2 separate regions of the Homo sapiens genome follow, and region 1 is linked to region 2. Evidence: promoter capture Hi-C in 16 types of primary human blood cells and fetal thymus (Javierre and others, 2016). All regions are on one chromosome and are shown on one strand. The core of a region is centred on a gene start or on the middle of the fragment in contact, and the rest is flanking DNA. Distances in the headings are between cores, read along the strand shown. Region 1 holds the start of JMY (junction mediating and regulatory protein, p53 cofactor). Region 2 holds the start of ZFYVE16 (zinc finger FYVE-type containing 16).

Evidence for each region. The method cuts DNA at HindIII sites, captures the fragments that hold promoters and counts their contacts. A CHiCAGO score of 5 or more calls a contact.
Region 1: the fragment with the promoter of JMY here is called in contact with the fragment with the promoter of ZFYVE16 in region 2 in 1 of 17 cell types (fetal thymus); the score reaches 5.8 in fetal thymus.

Annotation. Positions count from the first base shown.
Region 1 is chr5:79,234,507-79,238,281 of GRCh38, reverse strand. JMY (junction mediating and regulatory protein, p53 cofactor) reads right to left here and starts at 2,151. Exons shown (of 11, transcript NM_152405.5): 1 at 600-2,151. The coding sequence starts at 1,631. LOC124901011 (a long non-coding RNA gene) reads left to right here and starts at 2,259. Exons shown (of 2, transcript XR_007058836.1): 1 at 2,259-2,471. RefSeq lists silencers at 622-916, 1,200-1,469, 1,640-2,079, 2,110-2,159, 2,200-2,249 and enhancers at 590-1,009, 1,061-1,697. The HindIII fragment of the contact is 5,598 bases long and covers 1-2,668 here.
Region 2 is chr5:80,405,601-80,409,682 of GRCh38, reverse strand. ZFYVE16 (zinc finger FYVE-type containing 16) reads right to left here and starts at 1,619. Exons shown (of 19, transcript NM_001284236.3): 1 at 1,530-1,619. RefSeq lists a silencer at 1,019-1,138 and an enhancer at 859-1,657. The HindIII fragment of the contact is 4,043 bases long and covers 443-4,082 here.

The DNA of each region.
Region 1 (3,775 bases), core at 902-3,401, 1.2 Mb after region 2:
TGTAAAGACCTGAGGTAGTCCAAAAAAAAAGAAACAAAACACTTCTAAAAAACCTTTTAAAAATAAATTTGCATCCGATAGTCACTAGGTGCTTTTTCACTTAGGTCACTCGTTTAAAAATGAATTTAAAATTTGCGTAGGTTGCCACACTGCACAAAGAAGAATCAAAACAGATCAACTTTGCTCCGTAAGACAAACTATTTTAAATAAAGGTGACAAGGACAAAGAAGAGTTGACATCTGGGCAGTTATTGCTGGAAGAGCTTTAGGGGTAGAAAAATGCTCAGGTAGCCCATGCTTACAGAACACTTTTCTTAGTGGCTTTAATTGCGCATTACCAGTACTGAGTAGTACACAGAGCGCACTTACTACTTTTGATAAATGGGGGAGGAAATAAAGACGAAGGTCCTTCAGAGAGTCAATTAAGCAGCCACCGAGAGGGATGAAGGGCAAGGTAGATCAGGAACCCCTCTTGGTTTCCGCTTGTCCAGAAAAACAACCGTCCTACTGCGCACACCCGACACCGAGGCTCCAGCCTTTGGTTTGGCCAGTAAACCAAAAGCGACCAGTAGAGCCCAGACTAGGAGCTCACTCACTCACCTCCTGGATGCGCTTCCTGGCCCGCTGAAGCACTTCTTCGTAGCCCTTCTGCCGCAGCTCGCTGAGGCTTTCGTAATACTCCTCGGGATCATCGGTCTCGGTGAAGAGCACCTGGGAGAGGATCTTCCAGCCGCAGGTGTCCAGGCCGTGGCCCAGGTAGACCTGGAGCTGGTAACACAGAGTGTCGATTTCCTGCTCGGTCATCTCGGGGGCGCCCCCAAACAGCACAGTCCACATGCCCGAAGGTTCCTCGGGGAACACCGGCAGGCACGGCTCCAACTGCGAGTTCACCGAGCACAGCTGCTGGTGCACGGCGCGCAGGTCCTGGAAAGAAAACAGTCCGGCCCAGCTGCACTCTTCGGCCGGAGACTCCAGCTCGGTGGCGGGCGGCGGCTGCTCCGCGTCCGAGAGCGCCAGAGGTGCCTCGTCCTCCTTCACCATTTCCAGCACCTCTATCTCCTCGGAGACCGTCCCAGAGGCGCTCACTATCCGTACAGAGGACACCTGGGCCTCTCTGGGCGCCGGCCGGGCTGCTGCAGCGGCTGCCCCCGCCGCATCGTCGGCTTCAGATGTTTTCTGACCCGGGATGGGTTTGGCCCGCACTGGGCTCCTAAGACGACTCTCCGCCCCTTTGCTGCCAGGACTCCGCAGCCGCGGGTCCCCCAGAAGGCTGCGAGTGCTCCGAGGAGAGCCGCCCTCCGCCCAGGCCGAGCTCCGCCGGGGCCCGGGGCTCCTAACCAGAGTTGCAGAGGCAGTGGCCTCGGGCCGACCCCTGCCCGCCGGGCTGCCGGGCCCGCGGCTCCCGTCGGACGCAGCTCCGCCGGCCTCGGCGCCCCCTCGCGCCCCCGCTTGCTCCCGGGAGCCGCTCCTCTGCCTCTGGGCCGTCCGGTTGTGGCAGGTTATGGCAAACTTGCCCTCAATCTCGTTCCAGGCCACAATAAAGACGAATTTGTGTTTCTCGCGCTCGTCGAACACATGGGGCCGCACAGCCACCCAGTCCGACTCGAGCGTCTCCTCCAGCGCGAACGACATGGTGGCTCCGGCTTCTCGCCGCGGGGAAGGGCCGCCGGCCCGGCCCGCCCGAGGACTCCCCGCTGGCTGCGCCGCGCCCCCCGCTCACCCTCGCCGGGCGCCTTCAGCCATCTTAGTGCGCCGGCCGGCTCTCCCGGCTCGTTCGCCTGTCCCTCCGCGCCCCGACCGCCGAGCTCCTTTGTGGCGCGGATCGAGAGAAGGACAATAAGCGTCCCGGGAGCAGGTAGTTCACATGGTCACCTGCGGCCGGATCTGTTTACAAGCTCCGCGCTGCCGCAGCGCCTCGCGGCCGCCCGCCGCCCCCCGCGCGAGGCCGTGGAGCTGCGTCTGCGGCGCTCCGGTGGTGAGGCGCGGGTCCCGCGGGGTCAGGCCGGCGCTGTATGCGTCCCGGTCGCTCGCCCAGGTCAAGATCCCCGCCCCCGCCCCTGGTGCTGCTGCAGAAAGCCCGGAGCCGGCCTGACTGATGAACCCGTCTCCTAAACTCTGCGCCTCAGCATCGCCACAATGTTGCCATTCGACTGCTGACGTCGGCGGCTCCACGAGGGACGTAAACATGGGCACGTGCCGCACGCTGGTGACGCGGCGGCGGCGGCGCGCGCACCCCGCCCGCGCGCGCCGGCGCCTCCTCTCGGCGTCCCCTGAGCCAGCCCGCGAGCGGCCGCGCTCCCGACTCTCCTTCCTTCCGCGCAGCCTCCAGTTCCCCGGGGCTGGAGCCGGCTGTCGGCTGGTTGCCGGCTCCGAGGGCGATGAGAGTGGCAGGTGTGCCCTGCTGCACAGGTGGCCTCCGAACCCGGGAAAAGAGGAACTAAGGCGGAGGAACTGAGACGTTTCGAATTCCAGGTATTGAGACCCTCGAATGTACATTTGCCTCCATTCTCCTGGAGGGAGCCCGGACGGAGAGTCGCTCCTGCGTTCAGAAGTAGCGTGTTGCCGCGGGGAACGGTGTGCTGAACTATGTGGGGCTCGCCCCCAGCCTGTTAGGTTCTCCCCTAATGCCCTTGAGACCAAAACAAAAAACAAAAACAATTCCAGAAGCTTTTCTGGAAAGACAGAGTTTAATATATGAAAGGAAGGTGTCTGAGGAAAGCCCAGTAACAGTCCAAAACAAAATGAAAAATGAAAATGCCATGTCCTAACAGCATGAATGTTTACATTTCAGTTCATTGGTGTTTTATTGCTTCAGGTTTCATCATTATGTACTGTTCTGTGAACCTCGTTTTGAGGTCACTGGGCTTTAGCCCTTTTGAAGTTGTATTCAATTATGGGAGTTCCCAGAATGCATATACAAAAACAGTCATATCAATCTCTGCTATTCTTACTAAACTATGATGAAACACATTCTTAAAATTAGTAGACTTTATAATAATTATTGGCATTCTTTTTCCGATTAGTATTCAAGTCACAGATGTTGTGCACCATAGTAAAGCACAATGGAAATTAGTTCTTTTACATTTATTCACATTTCTAAAGTATATACAAAACCGTTTGGATTAGCCTTGTATTGTTAGGTTCAGTAAAAACAGCTGTTTATTCAGATGACAGAACAGTACTGAACTAGCTAAGCTTCAAACTTAGTTCAGTATTGTCCATCTTAAACTCTAAGCTTCAACACTTGGTTCAGTATTGTCCTGATATTTGAATAAACAGCCAAAAAAAATTTTTTTTTTGAGACAGAGTCTCACTCTGTGGCCCAGGCTGGAGCACAGTGGCACGATGTCAGCTTACTGCAGCCTCTGCCTCCCGGGTTCAAGCGATTCTCCTGCCTCAGCCTCCCAAGTAGCTGGGATTACAGGCACACACCACCAAGCCCGACTAATTTTTGTATTTTTATTAGAGACGGGGTTTCTTCATGTTGGCCAAGCTGGTCTCGAACTTCTGGCCTCAGGTGATCCGACCGCCTTGGCCTCTCAAAGTGCTGGGATTACAGTCGTGAGCCACTGAGCCCAGCTGGTTTTTAACATTTTGTACAGTTCATTATTTGAAACCACAAATTTTCAAAGTTTGTAACTGAGTTTGTGTCAAATCTCAAATGCAAGTCAGAGACACGTTCTGAAAGGCAAAAAAGAGAGAAAACCCATTTCAAATCTGAATTACGGGGCTGGGCATGGTGGCTGACGCCTGTAATCCCAGCACTTTGGGAGGCT
Region 2 (4,082 bases), core at 370-2,869:
ATAGCACAACAGACTGAACAGAAGCAAACATGAAAATCCAGCTGTCTTCTATAATGCCAGACATTAAAGTGATTCGCAAAAATTTGAAACAATGCCACGCTCCTCTTCTAAGTTTTGTTTTAGAAAATGGTTACTTTTCACTAAAAAATTATTTAATACATGAGTCTGTGATTTTTAAATGAATAAAACATTTTCAATTTTCTGAGTTTTAATTTCCAAAATGGTAAATATACTGCAGCATTAGGAACCAAAAACTCTATTGGTCCTCAATAATTTTTAAGCGTAATTATCCCCAATCATAATGTTAAATGAACTGTAGCACTATTCTATCATGTAACATTATGATTGAGGATAATTAATGCGGATTTGGCTTTATCTGTAATATAACTGTTTCAAAAGATACTTTGCTCATGTATAATCAAGAAGTCATTTTTATGAAGCTTTTTAAAAACATGGGGAAATGCTTACAACGTAATTTAAATCAAGGAAAGCAGACAATCCAACGATATAAAATCTCATCTCAAGAAAATGCACAGGGGAAAAAAAGACTCAAAGGAAAAAAGTCAAAATATTATAAGTAATTGATTACTATTACATGGTGGAATTATGATTGATCATTTTTCCTTATTCTTTATTCTATTTTTTCAATTTTTGCCACTAAGCATGCGGTTTAATATCCAGGAGAGGAAAAAAAGGAAGAAATTAGGCGAAAAATTATATATAGTTCTACTGGATTAAACCATTAAACTCCCGCCAACTCAAGAGACGACAAGCTCAAGTGAATAAATGGAGGAATCTGATTGAATCAACAAAGTGCCTATTTTTTGAATTGAAAAGATTAACTTAATATCAAATGTATGGACTGGTTTTCATACAAGTCAAACTAATAAGAAAGAACATCCTTAGTCTGGAACATAATATTTGCAATCACGATAGTACAAATAAGAGTTAAAAATAAGGTCCTCTTTTGGAGTTCTCAAAAGTACCAAAGGAAAGGCAGCGGGAAAGACGGCCACTGCATCCTTCTGGTCTCTAACCAAGAGAAAATGCATGGGTGCGGGAATGGACAGTGCGAGAGCACCGGCGGCGATGAGACTCCTCTGCGGGGACCGAGCCTCTGCCACTCCTGAAGAACCACAGTCCCCTCCGCAGTCGCAGCCCCTCCCCAGGCGGGACGGCGGCGCCAGGGCGCTTCTCCCTCCGTCCGCTGGGGTCTCTCCCCCAGGAGCGCCGAACACTCCGGCGGCCCGGGAGCGGGGAACCGGGCAAACAGCCGCCGTGATTGCCCTCCCGGTCCAGTCCGGTCTGGCCCTTCAGGCTCCAGGAGGGGACATCAGATTGGAGGGCCAGGGTTCCCCGGCCAGCTCCGGGGGCTCGGAAAAGGAATCGGTCGGGGCCCAGGCTCTGTCCCCAGAGGAAGAGGGCCAGACCCAGCGCCCAGGTCGGCGGGTCCAGCGGTCACCCCGCCCCCCTGTGGGAACAGCAGGGCTGAGGGGAGGCCGAGACGACCGGTCACGGGGGGCTCTTACCTCCCTACAGCCCCTGCGGAGCTTTTTGGGAACTCGACACGACGTCGCGCTGAGGAGTGAAGAGCTACCCCGGCCGGGAGTCCTGGGAGTGCCAGATCCCGGCTCAGGGCTTCTTTCCCCGCCCCACCGGGCAGCGCAGAGAGCGCAGGCGCAGAGGACGCTTTCCTCTTCGGCTCACACGCCCCCTCCCTCGGCATCCGCGGCCGTCTCCAGGCCCGGGGCGCTTGCGCACTACGACGCAGGTTCCGAGCCAAGGGCACTAGATTTCTTACCGGAAGTGCCTGAGTGGGTTGTTGGGTGACGGGGACGCCTGATGATTCGACCTTAGGTCGGGACTCGGTTCTCCACTCGACTGCGGGATCGGGAGGCCACTCGCGTCAGTGTCTGACTTCCTTTACCCTTCGCTAACCTAGAGGCAGCTTCCCCGGCTCCAGCCTTAGCCCTTTGCTGAGCCTGCGCGGCGTTCCGGTCTCTACTGGACAGACCCGCCTTCCCGGCAGCGGGCTAGGCCTGCTCTCCGCGCTGCTGGCCCCTCGGAAAACATAACTTTTTGTTTACTTCAAACTGATTTTACAACACGCTGCCCCCCCGCCTCCCCCGCTTCCCCCGCTTCCCCTTCCTCCTCCCGGCAGCAATAAAAATGCTCCCAGCCAACGCCGAGCTCCAAGCCCCTCCAGCTGACTGGACATTCCCAGCCACACTTTCCTTCCCTTCGCTGCGTTAGTTCTGCATTTTTATTTTAAAGCAGCTGGTAGAACAGCTGTCTCCCTGTCTAAAAGCAAAAGCTGACTTATCTGATGTAGAAATAAAATGTCACTCACTTGATGTATATTTGCTTGTTGAGTTTTGCTATTTTTACCACAAGTTTCCTATAAATTTAAATGAGACCCGGCGCGGTGGCTCACGCCTGTCATCCCAGCACTTTGGGAGGCCGAGGCGGGAGGATCGCTTGAAGTCAAGAGTTCCAGACAGGCCTGGGCAACATAGCAAGACCCTGTCTCTACTAAAAATGAAAATGAAAAAATTAGCCAGGCGTGTTGGCGCGTGCCTGTAGTCCCAGCTACTGGCTGGGAGTCTGAAGTGGGAGGATCACTTAAGCCCAGGAGGTCAAGGCTGCAGTGAGCTCTGATGGCAACACTGCATTCCAGCCTGAGCAACAGAACCAGACCGTGTCTCTAAAAAAATAAAAAATAAAAACAAGGGAAGAGACATACATGTGGGATCAGATACAGACAGATACAGGGAAAAAGCAGTTCCTCAAAGGTTAAACAGCTCACAGTTCATACTGATCTTTCAAAAATCGCAAGAATTGGCCGGGCGCAGTGGCTCACGCCTGTAACCCCAGCACTTTGGGAGGCCGAGGCAGGCGGATCACCTGAAGTCAGGAGTTCGAGACCAATCTGGCCAACATGGTGAAACTCCGTCTCTACTAAAAATACAAAAATTAGCTGGGTGTGGTGGCGGGCGCCTGTAATCCCAGCTACTTGGGAGGCTGAGGCAGGACAATCAGGACCATTGAATGAACCCAGGAGGCAGAGGTCACAGTGAGCCAAGATCGAGCCACCACACTCCAGCCTGGGTGACAGAGCAAGGCTCCGTCTCAAAAAAGAAAAAAAAAAAATTGCAAGAATTATAATTTTTCGAGTATTCCAGCCACATGTGATTTGTGATGAAAGATTTGAGAATCAGGGTTCGCATCTTAAATCTGCAGTTTACAACTATAGTTCCTGATCTTTGAAAGATACTTAATCTTTAACCTTGGTTTTCCTAAACAACAAAATGAAATAGCCAAACTTTTGATTGCCTAAAGTAATGTGTGTATTGAGCATCTGCTTTGTGACAGTGTGTTAGATGCTTTGCTTACGTTATCTCATTTAATCCTAAGAATAATTCTACAAACTACAGTATGCCTTTTTCCTACTATGTGTTAGGCATTGTTCACAGATAAAATAAAATGGGGCCACTGCCCATGGGGAACCACAGTCTAGTAGCAGAGACTCACATATACAAATGCATACTGGGGACAGAAGTATTTATACGGTAAAGTGTGAGGGTAAAGAGAATAGAAAAAAGACACAAACACCTTAAATAGATCAATGGGGAAAGTATATACAATGGTCAGTTCACAAAATATGAAATTTAAATGCCTACTACACATTTTACCAATCAATATTCAAAGTCATTAATAATAAACAGAGACAAAAAAGAGGTTGTCTGGCATCTAATTACCCAATCTGTTTAAAATGTGAATAAACTCGATTGGTGACAGAAGAGTGAAGTGGACACTTATACCCTGGGAGGGATATAAATTGGGACAAAGATTTTGGAAAGTTATTTGTCAAATCATATCAAGAACCTTATGAGTGTTCACATGACCCAATTTGATCATTTCTCTTTTGGAAGTTATAAGAAGGTAGTCCAGAAGACGAAGATCTCTATGGAAAGATACTTAACCATAGTAAGTAAATTGATAAAAGTCGAAAATCCACCATTAAGAGAATGGTTAAAATAATTACTGCATGTATGTGATTAAAACTATTAAAATTATGTTTA